2 separate regions of the Homo sapiens genome follow, and region 2 is linked to region 1. Evidence: promoter capture Hi-C in 16 types of primary human blood cells and fetal thymus (Javierre and others, 2016). All regions are on one chromosome and are shown on one strand. The core of a region is centred on a gene start or on the middle of the fragment in contact, and the rest is flanking DNA. Distances in the headings are between cores, read along the strand shown.

What was found. The method cuts DNA at HindIII sites, captures the fragments that hold promoters and counts their contacts. A CHiCAGO score of 5 or more calls a contact.
Region 2: a fragment that was not itself captured here is called in contact with the fragment with the promoter of HSPB2 in region 1 in 8 of 17 cell types (megakaryocytes, total CD8 T cells, activated CD4 T cells and 5 more); the score reaches 9.0 in megakaryocytes.

What each region holds. Positions count from the first base shown.
Region 1 is chr11:111,911,484-111,918,326 of GRCh38, reverse strand. It overlaps HSPB2 (heat shock protein family B (small) member 2), which reads right to left and starts at 5,593. Exons shown (of 2, transcript NM_001541.4): 1 at 5,404-5,593; 2 at 4,234-4,886. The coding sequence starts at 5,497. The coding sequence ends at 4,432. It overlaps CRYAB (crystallin alpha B), which reads left to right and starts at 6,557. Exons shown (of 3, transcript NM_001289808.2): 1 at 6,557-6,803. The coding sequence starts at 6,603. It overlaps HSPB2-C11orf52 (HSPB2-C11orf52 readthrough (NMD candidate)), which reads right to left and starts at 5,591. Exons shown (of 5, transcript NR_037651.1): 1 at 5,404-5,591. RefSeq lists an enhancer at 4,189-4,842. The HindIII fragment of the contact is 6,880 bases long and covers 1-6,514 here.
Region 2 is chr11:112,018,107-112,025,176 of GRCh38, reverse strand. It overlaps DIXDC1 (DIX domain containing 1), which reads right to left. Exons shown (of 20, transcript NM_001037954.4): 20 at 2,524-6,221. The coding sequence ends at 6,141. Among named protein-coding and RNA genes, the nearest start is that of DLAT, 3.8 kb to the left of the region's middle. RefSeq lists an enhancer at 618-807. The HindIII fragment of the contact is 1,386 bases long and covers 558-1,943 here.

The DNA of each region.
Region 1 (6,843 bases), core at 4,344-6,843:
TGGTATAAAATCAGATGATTCTATGATCAGGATGGCCTCAGCACTTCTTAACCACTCATTTCCTTATCCACAGTTCAGAACTACTGATTCTCCACTTACCCCTCAACTCTGCGTCTCCTTCCAGTAACCCAAAGTTAGACTCACCCGCACTCACCAGTAGAAAATATGGGCTCTACGAGAATCTGTGAAACCCATCATTCTTGTGTTCAGTTCTCTCACCCCATTTTTAGTGTTTTCCTCGGATGCCTGGTTATTGTCCTTTAAGTGGATGTTCAGGGCCCACCACTCAGCTCTGCACTCCACAGAGAATACCCTGGACTTTGAACTCCTCCTCTTATGAAACATGGGTAAGAGTGACAATCTTACAGGATTGTGGTGAAAAATAAAGCTCTAGTGCAGGGCCTGGCACATGGGACACACTCAGTAAGAGTTAGGCATTGTTGTTATTATTACAAAGCATCTTATTTTCTTTCTTTCTTTTATTTTTAAAGACAGGGTCTCAATCTGTCACCCAGGCTGGAGTTGAGTGGCTAGCTCACTGCAACCTCAAACTCCTACGCTCAAAAGATTCTCCCCCCTCAGCCTCTCGAGTAGCTGGGACTACAGGCTCACACCACTGTGCCTAGCTAATTAAAAAAAAAAAAATCTTTTTAGAGACAAGGTCTTTTTTTTTTTTTTTAAATTAATGTGAGATGGGGGTCTTGTTATGTGGACCAGGCTGGTCTCGAACTCCTGGCCTCAAGCAATCCTCCCATCTCAGCCTCCCAAAGTGCTGGGGTTACAGGTGTGAGGCACCACACCTGGCCAAGATAGGGTCTTGCTATGTTGCCCCTGCTGGACTTGAACTTCTGGCCTGAAGTGACCCTCCCACCACGCCTGGTTCCCACATCTTACTTTCTTTTCTTGTGCCCCAATCATTGCACTATTTCATGGCCATGCTTCTTCCATGCAATCCATTCTGTACTCTACTCTACCATTAACTGTATCCTTTTCATCTTGTTACCCACTCCTTCTCCTCCCAGTTCAAAAGCCATTAATGATTTCCTATCACCTACAGGATACAGTTCAAACTGCTTAGCCTGGCACTCCAAGCCCTCCATAATCTGGTTCCTTTTTAGTCACCCCTTCTGTAATGTTTTAAAAAGCACCTAAGCAGCTGGGTTTACACAGTGGCTTGGCTCATGCCTGTAATCCCACTGCTTTGGGAGACTGAGGCAAGAGGATCGCTTGAGCCCAGGAGTTCAAGATCAACCTGGGCAATATAGCAACAACCCATCATCTCTACAAAGTATAAAAACTGAAAAATTAGCCAGGTGTGGTGATGTGTGCCTGTAGTCCCAGCTACTCAGAAGGCTGAGGTAGGAGGGTTGAGCAAGAAAGTTTGAGGGTGCAGTGAGCTGTGATCACACCACTTTACTCCAGCCTGGGTGACAGAGTGAGACTCTGTCTCTAAAAAAAAAAAGAAAAGAAAAAAAGGAAAAGAAAAGAAAAGGAAAGGAAATCACCTAAGGGATTTTTAGATGACCAGAAACTCCAAAGAAATCAATAGAGGAATAGACCATTGTGGTAGCCAGAAAACCTCATATGCCTAAAGCAGCATTAATAGAAGCCTGAAGTGATAAACAAGGATATTGATTATTCCACTGAAGTCTGTACCAGTCAATCCATGACTGGAATAATAATTTTAGGTCTAGATGTTGAATTTCAAGTTACGTTGTCAAAAGGCAGTATGTTCAAAATAAAGTTATCTGGGTAATATGTGATGTGGAAAGTGCTGTATGATATGGTTGAAAGAACAAGGCATGGCTGGGTGTGGTGGCTCACGCCTGTAACCCCAATGTGTTGGGAGGCCGAGGTGGGCAGATTGCTTGAGGCCAGAAGTTCAAGACTAGCCTGGACAACATGGCGAAACCCAGTCTCTACAAAAAATTAGCCAGGTGTTGTGGCGCATGCCTGTAGCCTCAGTTACTCAGGAGGTTGAGGTGGGAGGATTGCTTGAGCCCAGGAGGAGGAGGTTGCAGTGAGGGGAGATGACACCACTGTACACCCAGCCTCGGTGACAGAGAGAGACTTTGTCTTAAAAAAAAAAAAAAGAACTAGGCATGTTTAGCTGGGAAAGGGAAGCCTCAGGAAGACAGGATGGTTATCTTTAAATATCAGAAGGATTTTCAGTGAAAAAACCATTGTGTTTGTTTTCCAGAGAAGTTACTGAAATGCAGATTTTGATTCAACAAAAGGAGGAATTTATAACGGTTAAGTCAGTTAAGACCAAAAAGAAAATGGAAGGCCAGGTACAGAGGCTCACACCTGTAATCCCAGTACTGTGGCAGACCAAGGATAGAGGATTGCTTGAGTCCAGGAGTTCAAGACCAGCCTGGACAACAAGGCGAGACCTCATCTCCAGAAAAAGTAAAAAATTAGCCAGGCGTGGTGGCACACACCTGTAGTCCCAGCTACTCAGGAGGCTGAGGCAGGAGGATTGCTTGAGCAAGGGAGGTTGAGGCTGCAGTGAGCCATGATCATGCCACTGCACTCCATCCTGAGCAACAGAACAAGACCCTGTCTAAAAAAGAAAAGAAAGAACATGGAAACGACTACCGTGAGAAGTTCTAAGTTGTCTGTTATTCAGAATGTCCCCGAATAAGTTGATTAATAACTTTAAAAGCATTTGAATGGAGAGGGGATTTGGACTAAATCAGAAGTTTTCAAATTTCTTATAGCTAGGAAACCCTTTCCTTTAAATAAAGCTCAGTTACAAAACATATCAATGTGAAGCTATTTTGGTTGAAGTCTAAGTAGAATCCTTTTCTTATTATTTTTCTTCTCAACTAGATTCTGGAAAGTTGACAATAAAAGCTAATAGTTTTTATAATTTATATTTACAATGTATATCCCCCAAGGTGTATTACATGAGGTTTGATAAATATTTACTGAATGAATGAATGAACAGTTAAATATGTCAAATGTTATTTCTCTGGGGCATGCTTTCATTTTTAATAGACAGCAATCTTTTAACCAAAAGTCGAATTCCTCAAGTGAGTTCTGTTATCCTGGAGGTCCACAGATCCCTAAGGGGGGTATGTGAATGGGTCTTAAGAGTTGTGGGAACCTATTCAAATTGTATTGCCAAATTTGGGAGCATATGTATTTTTCTGGTAAGAGCAGCTATAGCTTTTGTCAGATTTTCAGAAGGGTCTATAACTCCCAAAAGTTAAGAAACAACCACTTAATTTAATTCAATTCAATTTAATTTTTTTGAGGCAGGGTCTCACTCTGTCACCCAGGCTGGAGTGCAGTGGCGCAATCTCAGCTCACTGCAGCTTCAACCTCCCTAGCTCATCCTCCCACCTCAGCCTCCCAAGTAGCTGGGACTACAGGCATGCACCACCATGCCTGGCTAATTTTTATTTTTTTGTAGAGACAAGGTTGCACTCTATTGCCCAGGCTGGTCTCTTACTCTTGGGCTCAAGTGATCCTCCTGCCTCGGCCTCCCAAAGTACTGGGATTACAGGTGTGAGCTGCTGCACCCAGCCAAGAAACAACTGCTTTAATGGAAGAATTGTAGGTATCTACCACAGCCTAATGAAATATGTATTTGGAGGCAGGAAGGTCTTTTGGACACTTCCCCCAAATCATGTAGCTGGATGTTCTCTTGATTGCAGAGAATAACTGAGGGGACAGACCTCAGGCTTTCCTGAATACACCGTACCCCCAGAGGATGGGAAGGTAATGGGGTTCCGTGATAATTGGAGAGGCTTTGTGTCTGTGCCCTGTGTATGCATACTCAGGCTCTCAAAATCAGTGACCATTTAAGTGGACAGACCTTAGTACATGAAAACAAAGTATTCACTCCAGGACTTTAGGCAACTCTCACCAGCCAAAAACCATTTTCCCAGCCCCTACCCAAAAAGGGCCAGACAGTCTGGAGACCCTTGTTTTTGTGTCTCTAATCACCAGCTCAGACAGTGCCCTCTGGGCTGTTTGGATGGCATATCCCTTTTCCCTCCCAGGATCACTCTCTCTTTTGTTGCATTGTGAGAAAATTATGGCTAGGAATTTGATCTGGAGCCAGAGTCAGCTTCCGGGTGTGATCTCAGCATCCAAGTGCGAGCTCAGGGTCCTATGACGTTGGGCACATCAAACTGAGGAGCTTTTTGTCTAGCTGGCTGTGACCTCCTCCCTCCCTCCCCATCCCAGCTTCCCGGCCACAGAATAGGGAGCAGTACAAACAAGGCCCTGAGATTTGGGTTTATTCAGCTCCACCCAAAACTAAACCAAGGCTATGACATGTCCCATGGGACCAAACCATACATTGTGGACCATGCACCTTTCCCTTCCCCCAAGGATGCTGCTACCTCTGGAGTGGTGGGCAGCTGCCCATATCACCTTGGGAGGTAGAGAGGGATTTGCTGGGTGCTGGGTCTGTGGCAATCAGGGCTCAACTATGGCTGCCTCCTCCTCTTCCTCTGGATCAGGAGGCGCAGGGAGCAGGGAGATGTAGACCTCATTGACCTCTGTGTCCAAATGTCGGCCACCCCGAGGTGCTTCCAGGTTTAAGATGCCATCATGGGAGAGAGCAGCTCGGACTCGCCAGGGGTCGACATCAGCAGGCAGGACATAGGTGCGGCAGAACTCTCGGGACACGAAGCCGTGGCGGTCCAGGCGCTGGGGGTGCCGGGCAGACACCTCCAGCAGGTTATCCACAGTCCTCACAGTCACCTCGTCTGGGGTAAAGTGGCTCACATCCAGAAATGCCTGGAACTTGCCCTCACTGAGCCTAAGCTCGGAGGCCCCTGCCCTGCTGCCCTCCCCAGCTGGGGCGGCCCGAGGCCGGACATAGTAGCCATGGTAGAGTGTGGGGGTCAGGATCTCTTCTGGCAGGAGGCCTAAAGGGCAGAGAGAAGGCAAGAGGCAGGATGAGGGAGGATGAGGCTGGCACAGGGGCGAAATGGGAAATCTGGAGAGGAGGGATTGGGAAGAGCAAGAGGGGAGTCAGGAGGAGTAGGGAACGGGAGGGAGGCCACACTGTAGCTAGGAGGAGAAGGCAGCTCGGAAGAGGGGAAAGAGAACGGAAAGGAAAGGGAGGAGGAGGAGGAGAAGGAGGAGGAGGGGGAGGAGGAGGAGGCACCAAACGGCCTGGGTGGATAGAAGGGGGACAAGGAGGCACACCCAGGCCGGCAAAGAGCAGGTATCAGCACTGCAAGCACCAAGTGTGTCTTGAGGTCAGCAGGAATGGGAAAGATCTCTGCTTGGAGGGGATGAGGGGTAGTCTGGGGTGGGGGGTGGCTGGTCCCAGGAGATCAGTTAAGCCCAGAGTGGGGTGGAGGCCAGCAACGTTGGGAGGTCAGCCCAGAATTTCAGGGGGTGGGGGTGGGGGGCAAGGGGGTGGTGTCTGTGCCATACCTTCTCCGAAGCGCTGCTCACCCAGGCGGCTCGGGTTGGCAAATTCGTACTCGGCGGTGGCCGGGTGGGCATGTGGCACTGAGCGGCCCGACATGGCTGCAGATGCAGCAGAAGCCCTGGTCCGAGGTGCAGCCCCAACAGGCGCAGCGCGACCCCTCCAGCTGCCCGGAGAGCCAGGGCTCGATAGGAGGTGGGGGCGGGGTCGACACCACCCAAAATAGTGCCGAGCCTCTTGGGGGGGGAGGGGCTGGGAGTGGGGGCCCTGAGTGAGAGCAACGAGGGTGTGACCAGCGCCGCCCGGACCCCTAGTCCCCTCCCCCGCACACTCTTCAGCTGTCGCAGGGGGCCTGAGAGGACAGCTGAGGGTCCTGGCTGGGAACGAGCTGGGGAGGGGGAGCTGGTGGTGCCTGGGGCATGAAGAGGCCTCGCTGAGACCCTCACAAACGGTTTGCACGTTTCCACACCTCATTTTCTCCTCTTCGGTGGCAGGCACTGTGCACCCAATTCCTAAAGCACTCCTGGATTTAATGTTCTGAGAGCCACATAGAACGAAAGATGCAAGAAATCTGTTTGCTCTTTTTTCAGGGGGTGGGGTCTTTCTGCCCAGATGTGGGATCCTCTCCTAAACCCAGGTCAACCCAGGGCACGAGGCAGATGGCTGGTGCTGACATGTTGACCATCACTGCTCTCTTCCAAGGACTCACAAAGAGTTAATGTCCCTGGGGCTCAGCCTAGGAAGATTCCAGTCCCTGCCCAGGCCCAAGATAGTTGCTGGCCTGATTCCCCTGGCATTCAGGACTGGAAAGGAGGAGGAGGGGCACACTACGCCGGCTCCCATCCTCCCCCCACCCCGCGTGCCTGCTTGGGATTCCTGACTCTGTACCAGCTTCAGAGAACAGGGGTGGGGGTGGGTGCCATTGGGTGTGGACAGAAAGCTAGTGAAACAAGACCATGACAAGTCACTGGCCGGCTCAGACGTGTTTGTGTCTCTCTTTTCTTAGCTCAGTGAGTACTGGGTATGTGTCACATTGCCAAATCCCGGATCACAAGTCTCCATGAACTGCTGGTGAGCTAGGATAATAAAACCCCTGACATCACCATTCCAGAAGCTTCACAAGACTGCATATATAAGGGGCTGGCTGTAGCTGCAGCTGAAGGAGCTGACCAGCCAGCTGACCCCTCACACTCACCTAGCCACCATGGACATCGCCATCCACCACCCCTGGATCCGCCGCCCCTTCTTTCCTTTCCACTCCCCCAGCCGCCTCTTTGACCAGTTCTTCGGAGAGCACCTGTTGGAGTCTGATCTTTTCCCGACGTCTACTTCCCTGAGTCCCTTCTACCTTCGGCCACCCTCCTTCCTGCGGGCACCCAGCTGGTTTGACACTGGACTCTCAGAGGTGAGTCTCCCCACAGCTAGGACGGGAGAGTCCTTACTGG
Region 2 (7,070 bases), core at 1-2,500, 110 kb before region 1:
CATCCGAAAGGGTGAGACGGGGCCTAAGAGATGACAAGGGCACGACCGAGGGGGAGGGGCCTAAAAAGGCGCAGAGACGCGGGTTAATTGCGGCCGAGTGGCCTGAGAGTCTGGGCCGAGGGGCGTGGCCAAGCTTTCTGGAAAAGCTGGAAGTGAGCCCGGGAACTGGCTAGGGCAGTGGGAGCCTCAGGCCAAAGGGCGGGGGTCTTGGAGTGCTGGGGTGGTGAAGGAGCCAGGAATCGCCCGCGAGGGAATCGAGGGGTCCGGCGTGGTGACCTCTGCTTCTGCGCATCCGAAGGGGGATGGACTGGGCCGCGCCCCGCGCAGGCTGTACTGGTTGCAAAGATTTCGTTTCAGGTTTGTAGCCCAAGTGGAAAGTGGAGTGAACAGGTGTTCCACCCAGCCAAGTGGTAACGAAAGGCAGCCCAGAGGAAGATACATTCCCGCATTCATGTATACTGTAGCAAGATTAAGCATATTCCCTGTATGAAGATATAGGTTTACAAAACAGGTGTTGCTCCCTAATACCATAGAATTCTTTTAAGTAACCAAAAGCTTCGTTATGTTTCAAATGTTTGAAAAACTTAACTGTAAGCCGTTGAAGGCATGAAGAGTGTCTGCGTGGTCCTTCCATGTAGCCCCAGAGCTTAATATCCAGTAAATAGCGGGGGCTGAATGTATGTCTTTTGAATCAATGAATAAAAAGTCATCTACACATTTTGTTAGGCACGCTTCTCTTGTAAAGTTGTCTTTTAATTAGAAAACATATCGTTTCTGAACTGAAGGTGACATTAGATAAGGAGGAAGCATGTGCTGTGTATCACCACCTCCCCCCTGTAGAGATGGTTAGAGAACACCAAGAACGCAAGAGGAAGTTGGAGGGAAGAAACTTAAAACAAGATTTTAGCCAGGAGCGGTGGTGCATGCCTGTAGTCCCAGCAATGCTTGAGAGGCTGAGGTGGGGGAATCACTTGAGCCCAAGAGTTTGAGACCAGCCTGGGCAACATAATGAGACTCCCATCTGTTAAAAAAAAAAAAAAATGGGGGCTAATCTTGCTAACAATTAATTTGGAAAACTAAAACAGATTGGATGTACTATTTCATGCCTACTTAAATTGGAATGTTTAAGCAGGTACAGCTGTCTATCAGAATAATATGTAAGCAATATAATTGAGAAATATAAAATTTCTAGATTGAATGAAAAGGCATATTTTAAATAATATGAAGAGAGCAATTATATTGTTACAATTATGTACAACTTATGAATTAACAATTGGAAGAAGCAATGAAAGAATAATTGTAATTACTGAAAGGACTTATTACTATTATTTGGGGATGGAGTCTCACTCTGTCGCCCAGGCTGGAGTGCAGTGGCATGATCCCGGCTCACTGCAACCTCCACCTCCCAGGTTCAAGCGATTCTCCTGCCTCAGCCTCCCGAGTGCTGGGATTACAGGCACGTGCCACCATGCCCAGCTAATTTTGTGTTTTTAGTAGATACGGGGTTTCACCATGTTAGTCATGCTGGTCTCAAACTCCTGACTTCAGGTGATCCACCTGCCTCGGCCTCCCAAAGTGCTGAGATTACAGGCGCGAGCCACCATGCCCGCCCAGGACTTATAAATTATTATAAAAATGTTTTTGAGTTGGCTAAAATATCTTGCTGCTTTTGCTGCATTTGAACTTAATAACTGGATCTAAATTAGACTTTGGTATAAAGTATGAGGTGATCTTCCGGATCTGTTGTGCACTTAGGTATGCTTGCTTAAACCCTGTTTTGCATTTTTCAAAGAATAGCGAGTTTGTGTCTTGAATATACTTTTGACTTAAGTGTAGTTAAATTATAGGAATGCATAGCTCAAACAGTCCAGAGATGGCGAGCTTACCCCAGAGGTGGGCTAGGAATGCTTAGGTTTCTCAAATCAGTCCTGAGAGAACAAGCTTGAATTCCACTAAACAGACTGGATAAAGGAAATTATGGAAAAGGAGACTCAAGACTCAAAGGTTTGAAATAGAGATACTTAAGAGAATGGTGATATCACTGATATTGAGAGAAACAGAAATTAGTTGGTAGTGAAAGATTTTGAGTTATGTACATATTTAATTTTAACATAATGGGATAGCCAATTAATAGTTGAAAATACGTAATTGGAAGTCAAATGAAGGCACTCAGGGATAAAGAATTTAATATAGCAAACATTTAAGATGAATTGATAAGAGGCATTTAAGAGGCAGCTTTCAAATGATCTGGGAATTCTGGTCATTTTAAATACACATTTCTGAAAGAGTTCTTAATGCTTGCATACTGACTTTTGTCATAGAGTTTATACTCTTGGGTTCTTATTTGTTTGCATGTTTACATATAATTTCAAAATAAGTGCTAAATAAATTGTCCTTGATAATAGCCTATGTGCTTACATAGAAATACTAATTGTAAAATATCTGTAGCAATAAAGTAATTCTTATCTCCACTCCACATAGTGAGTAAACATGCTACCAGGGAGATCACTTGAGGAAATTTGCTTTCACTAAATGTAAATGGCTTTATTGATTAATCTCATCAGTAAACGCAAGTGAAAATCATTAATGATATTTAGTTTGCAAACCCCATTTTATTCATAGTTTGTGGTTTTTTAAATTAGTTCACAAATCTGGTACATACCGGCAGTTAAAACTGGTTATCACTTTGATAATCAGAAGCCTCTGGTGTAACATAGTCTTCATGAAAACATATTGTAAAACAGGGAGAATACACAGTAATAATCTCTTTGAAAGCAATGGCTGTAAACATCCATGTTTCTAAGAAAATATAACTTTACATATATATGTATTTTAAGCAAGCTATACCTCTTACATAAATTCAGACAGTAGAAGGAGTGTGCAATCATAATGCTTATTTTATGGAAACAGTGAAAATAATTTTAATTATGACCTAAATGCTTTTAAGTAATTAAAGTCCTCTTGAATTGGATGTATAGTATAAAGATATTTTCCCTAATTTGCAACCATCCTGGTCAAAAAGAGCTGAAAAGTTGGTCAGTAAGTAGAAGTGCCATTACCAAGTAAGTTTAAAACAAATTCTTCAAATTTAAAAATGTAAAAATTGTAAAGTATCCCAATCCCCCCAGCTAATTTAGGGAACTGAGCAAGAAGAGAACATTCTTCAGTTTTTAAATGACTTTTTTTTTTTTTTTTTTGGAGATGGGGTCCTGCTCTGTAGCCTAGGCTAGAGTGCAGTGGCATGATCAGCTCACTGCAACCTCAAACTCCTGGGCTCAAGCAATCTTCCCACCTCAACCTCCTGAGTAGCTGGGACTACAGGTGTGTGCCACCATCCCCAGCTACTTTTATAATAAAATTTCTATGTAGAGACGGAGTCTTCCTACGTTGCCCAGGCTGGTCTTGAACTCCTGGGCTCAAGCAGTCTTCCTGCCTCGGCCTCCCAAAGTGCTGGAATTACAGGCATGAGCCACCACACTCAGCCTTAAATGAAGATTTTGTAAGGAATTGAGCATTCAACTAAACTCGTTTTTGTGAGATGGTCATTTTGTTTTAACCTAACATGGTTTAGAGATTATTTTATGAACTCTAAGCATTCTGGTTCCTCAGTTTTCTCAAAGAAAGAGAACTTTAGCAAGTAGCAGGACAAGCTACCCCACACCAATGCCACCAGGCGACAATACTATGAATAAGTCAGGAGGCCTCCTAGAATGCAGCCAAATAGGAAACTGTTCCAAACAGAATCAGTCTTGCATACTTCTGCTCAGAAGGCTCCTCTCGCTTTGGAAACTGGAATGAGGATCACCAACAGGATCCTCATTTTACACAGGAGTTATGAGAGTTACATCCTCTAGCAGAGATGCTTGGTCATTACCTGTGGTACATGAGATTACCGAGCTAAAAGGGAAAAAAAACGATCTTAATGTTCTCCCATGAACTCAACTTAAGCTTTTTATGGAGGCACTGAGGCCATGCAGCTCCTTTTCCAAAAGACACAGATAAAAGCCAAATAAGGTAGAGGACTTTGGAAATTTTCTCTGAAAAGTTAAATTCCACATAATAGTAAGACTGTTTGCTGAGAGAAAACTGACAAGTAAAAACTGGTTTAAGAGACAGACATTCAAGACAAACTGTATTGGAAATACAATAATGAATTTTGGCCTGATAGCCCTCATGCTGTCTTATAGCAAAACACTAAAATTCATGCAACAGAGAAATTGGTGACATGAGGACTTTTTCTCCAGACTTCCTGGGGAAAAACTGTGAGAATATACTTTTTTCTTCTGTTTGCTTTCGAAATGCATTCTTTCTTTTGCTGACTTTCCCAAACTTTCCCAGTCGTTTCTGATGAAAAATTCTTCAATAGGAAAAGACCAGGTAAACTTACATGAAAGACATCAAGTATCTTTTGAGCTCCTTCTCTCTGCCAGAGGAGCAATCAACTGGATTACACAAAACTACCTTCACAACTAAAACAGGTAGAATTGGAACAGGAATTAGTTGTCATTAATATACTCGTAATAAAATAAAGCTTGTTCTGAAACCACAAGGGGTGGTAAGAAGAGACTGTATAAAAGCTACTGGGTTCTCTAGAAAATGGATACAGTATACAGAATGTGAGAAGATACAGAACTCACACTCCAGTTATAAAAATAGACATGGTTCTCAGACAAAAAGCAAATGAGTACAAAAGAATTCTCCAAACGTGAACTATTTTTAAAAGATACATCTATATAAAACAACAAGATGTCATCTCAGAGCTCCAAAGAGTAGTTTGTTGAAATGGCTGAAAAGGGGAGATGAATTGGAGACAGATAGGTCAAGAACCCAGAACAGATGTGTCCTACTCTTGTGTTTGGCAGTGTACATTGGAGGTCACAGGCAGATAGACTGCTTTTGGTAATACATATATAAATAATAATGGCTGACTGGTTGATGGTGCTTGATGGATGAATGAGAAAACCCAGGTTATCAAATAATCTCGGTAGTTGAACTGTTAGCTTCTTCACTTGACAATGTTGCACATCAGAAATGATTCTAGGTTTTTTTTACCCAGAATGATCCCTGCCATTCACAACTCATGCTCCACGCCCCATGGTTTCTATTGTGCCCTAAAAGATCAGCCTAGACTAATACATAAATAGAAAATAACTCTGGCCTTGAAATGAGGGGCAGACAAGTACTTCATGCTCAGTACTTATAAATCACAAAGAAATGCTGAAATTAATGGTCTGTCTCCTTTTACTACAAAGGAGATGCCATGAGTTAAAGTCATGAAACAAAGAAAGTCAAAAAGATATGGGTAGCAGCACCTTTCCATACCCGCCTGGATTTTCAAGGAGCTTTTCACTCCTTATGCCTTTCAAACAAAAGTTCATCAGTTTGAAGAAAAAGAAATGGCTCTAAAGTTAAAGAGTCCCCAGAGAAAACTAACAGTACATGAAATAGGCCCTATGTGGGCAAAAGGACAAGCTGCAGAACCAGTTAAGACAGAAGAGGCAGCCCAAGGTCTTACTAAATTACAGTTTTAGCATAGTGTAGCACAACATGGGCAGCCCTTTTTCCATCCAAGCAACAATTCAGCACCATCCACGTCTGGTTCAAAAGATTACTGAAGTCTGGGCTTTCATCTTTGGTACCACCTCATGAGTTATTCTTGGTTTGCAGTAGGTTCAAAGAAACAGAAAAGCTGGTACCTTTGCCTTGTCTGTGAGTACAAACGCTGGGACTCTGATTGCTGCAACCATTGAGGCCAATTAAAATAATACTGTAACACACAGGAATGATGCATCCAATTCCTAATTTCCAGATAATAGCAGCCATGCCCCTACAGAGGCGGGATCATCCATCCCCATCGTTTAAGGCCTTCGGTTTGTTGTCCTCAGAGTAGAATAGAACACTGTGTTCCCACGGACAAGGAACTCCAGATGAACCCATGGTCTACATTTGGACAGAATTTTAAGTACCAGATATGCCAGGCACAGAAAGAGGACTGACCTGTGGCCATCATGCTTGGAGAAGCTTCTGTTTTGGCACACAAACTAGAAACTTCTTAGTGTATTCTGGTTTTAGTTCCCTTTCCTGAGTGAAGCAGCCAGGGAGTGACCAGGTTCCATAAGCCCTCAATCTGATACTTGGCATTAATTCTCTCCATGGTCTTCTTCCACCCAAGCTACAATTTTCCCTTCCCATCCAGGGATGGCATCATCATCATGGAAAATCTAGAGAAAAAAACAAAAAGCCACAGTGAAAAAACAGGGAATCTGATTCACTAAACAATTGCTGCTAATAAAAATAAGACCTCAACCATGTAGAAGAAAGCCTTGAGTTAAGAGTCTATGTCCTTTTGGTCTTGTCCCTAGAACTGCAACTGATATTTTATTTTTTTCTTAGATCCACATCTATGAAATGGTTTTAAAAAATGCCTGATACTACTTTGCTCATAGAGATTTGTAAGAATTAATAAATTACCAATCACAAAGTACTTTGGGCTTCTTAGAGGAAAGATGTAGTGTTAAGTATTTTAAAAATGAGAAAGTGGAAAATTTAGTTACCAGGCAATGTAAAGAAAGGGTGGGGAAAAAAGACTCATTTTAACACATTTCTCAGATGCAGTTATTTTCATTAATTCATTCAACTCATTTCCTAAGCCACTAATAAAACAGGGTTACTAAAACATTTCACTGAGGAAATGTTTACAAAATAAAATTTTACTTTCTCTATAATAACTTTTTTCATTCTGTAACTGCAGTGAATCCACTTGTAATACTATATAACCCAGAACTGTATTCCCCCAAAAGTCTATCTTTGACAAATGGATTATAAAGAGACGCGTAGGCTAAGAAAATACTTACTCAAGGAGTTGGGCATAAGCATACATAACTCCCTAGAAGTTCCTTGATTTCATTATGAGAAATACACAGTTCCATATATCCATGCGTGTTTATTTTGCTCTACATAGGAAGCAAGAAGTTTTCTAAGATTTGGCTGCAGATGGAAAATTATTTATTGTCTTAGGTTCTTTATTTTCCCTAACAAAATAATTTAAAATAAAAATTATATCCAAGTTC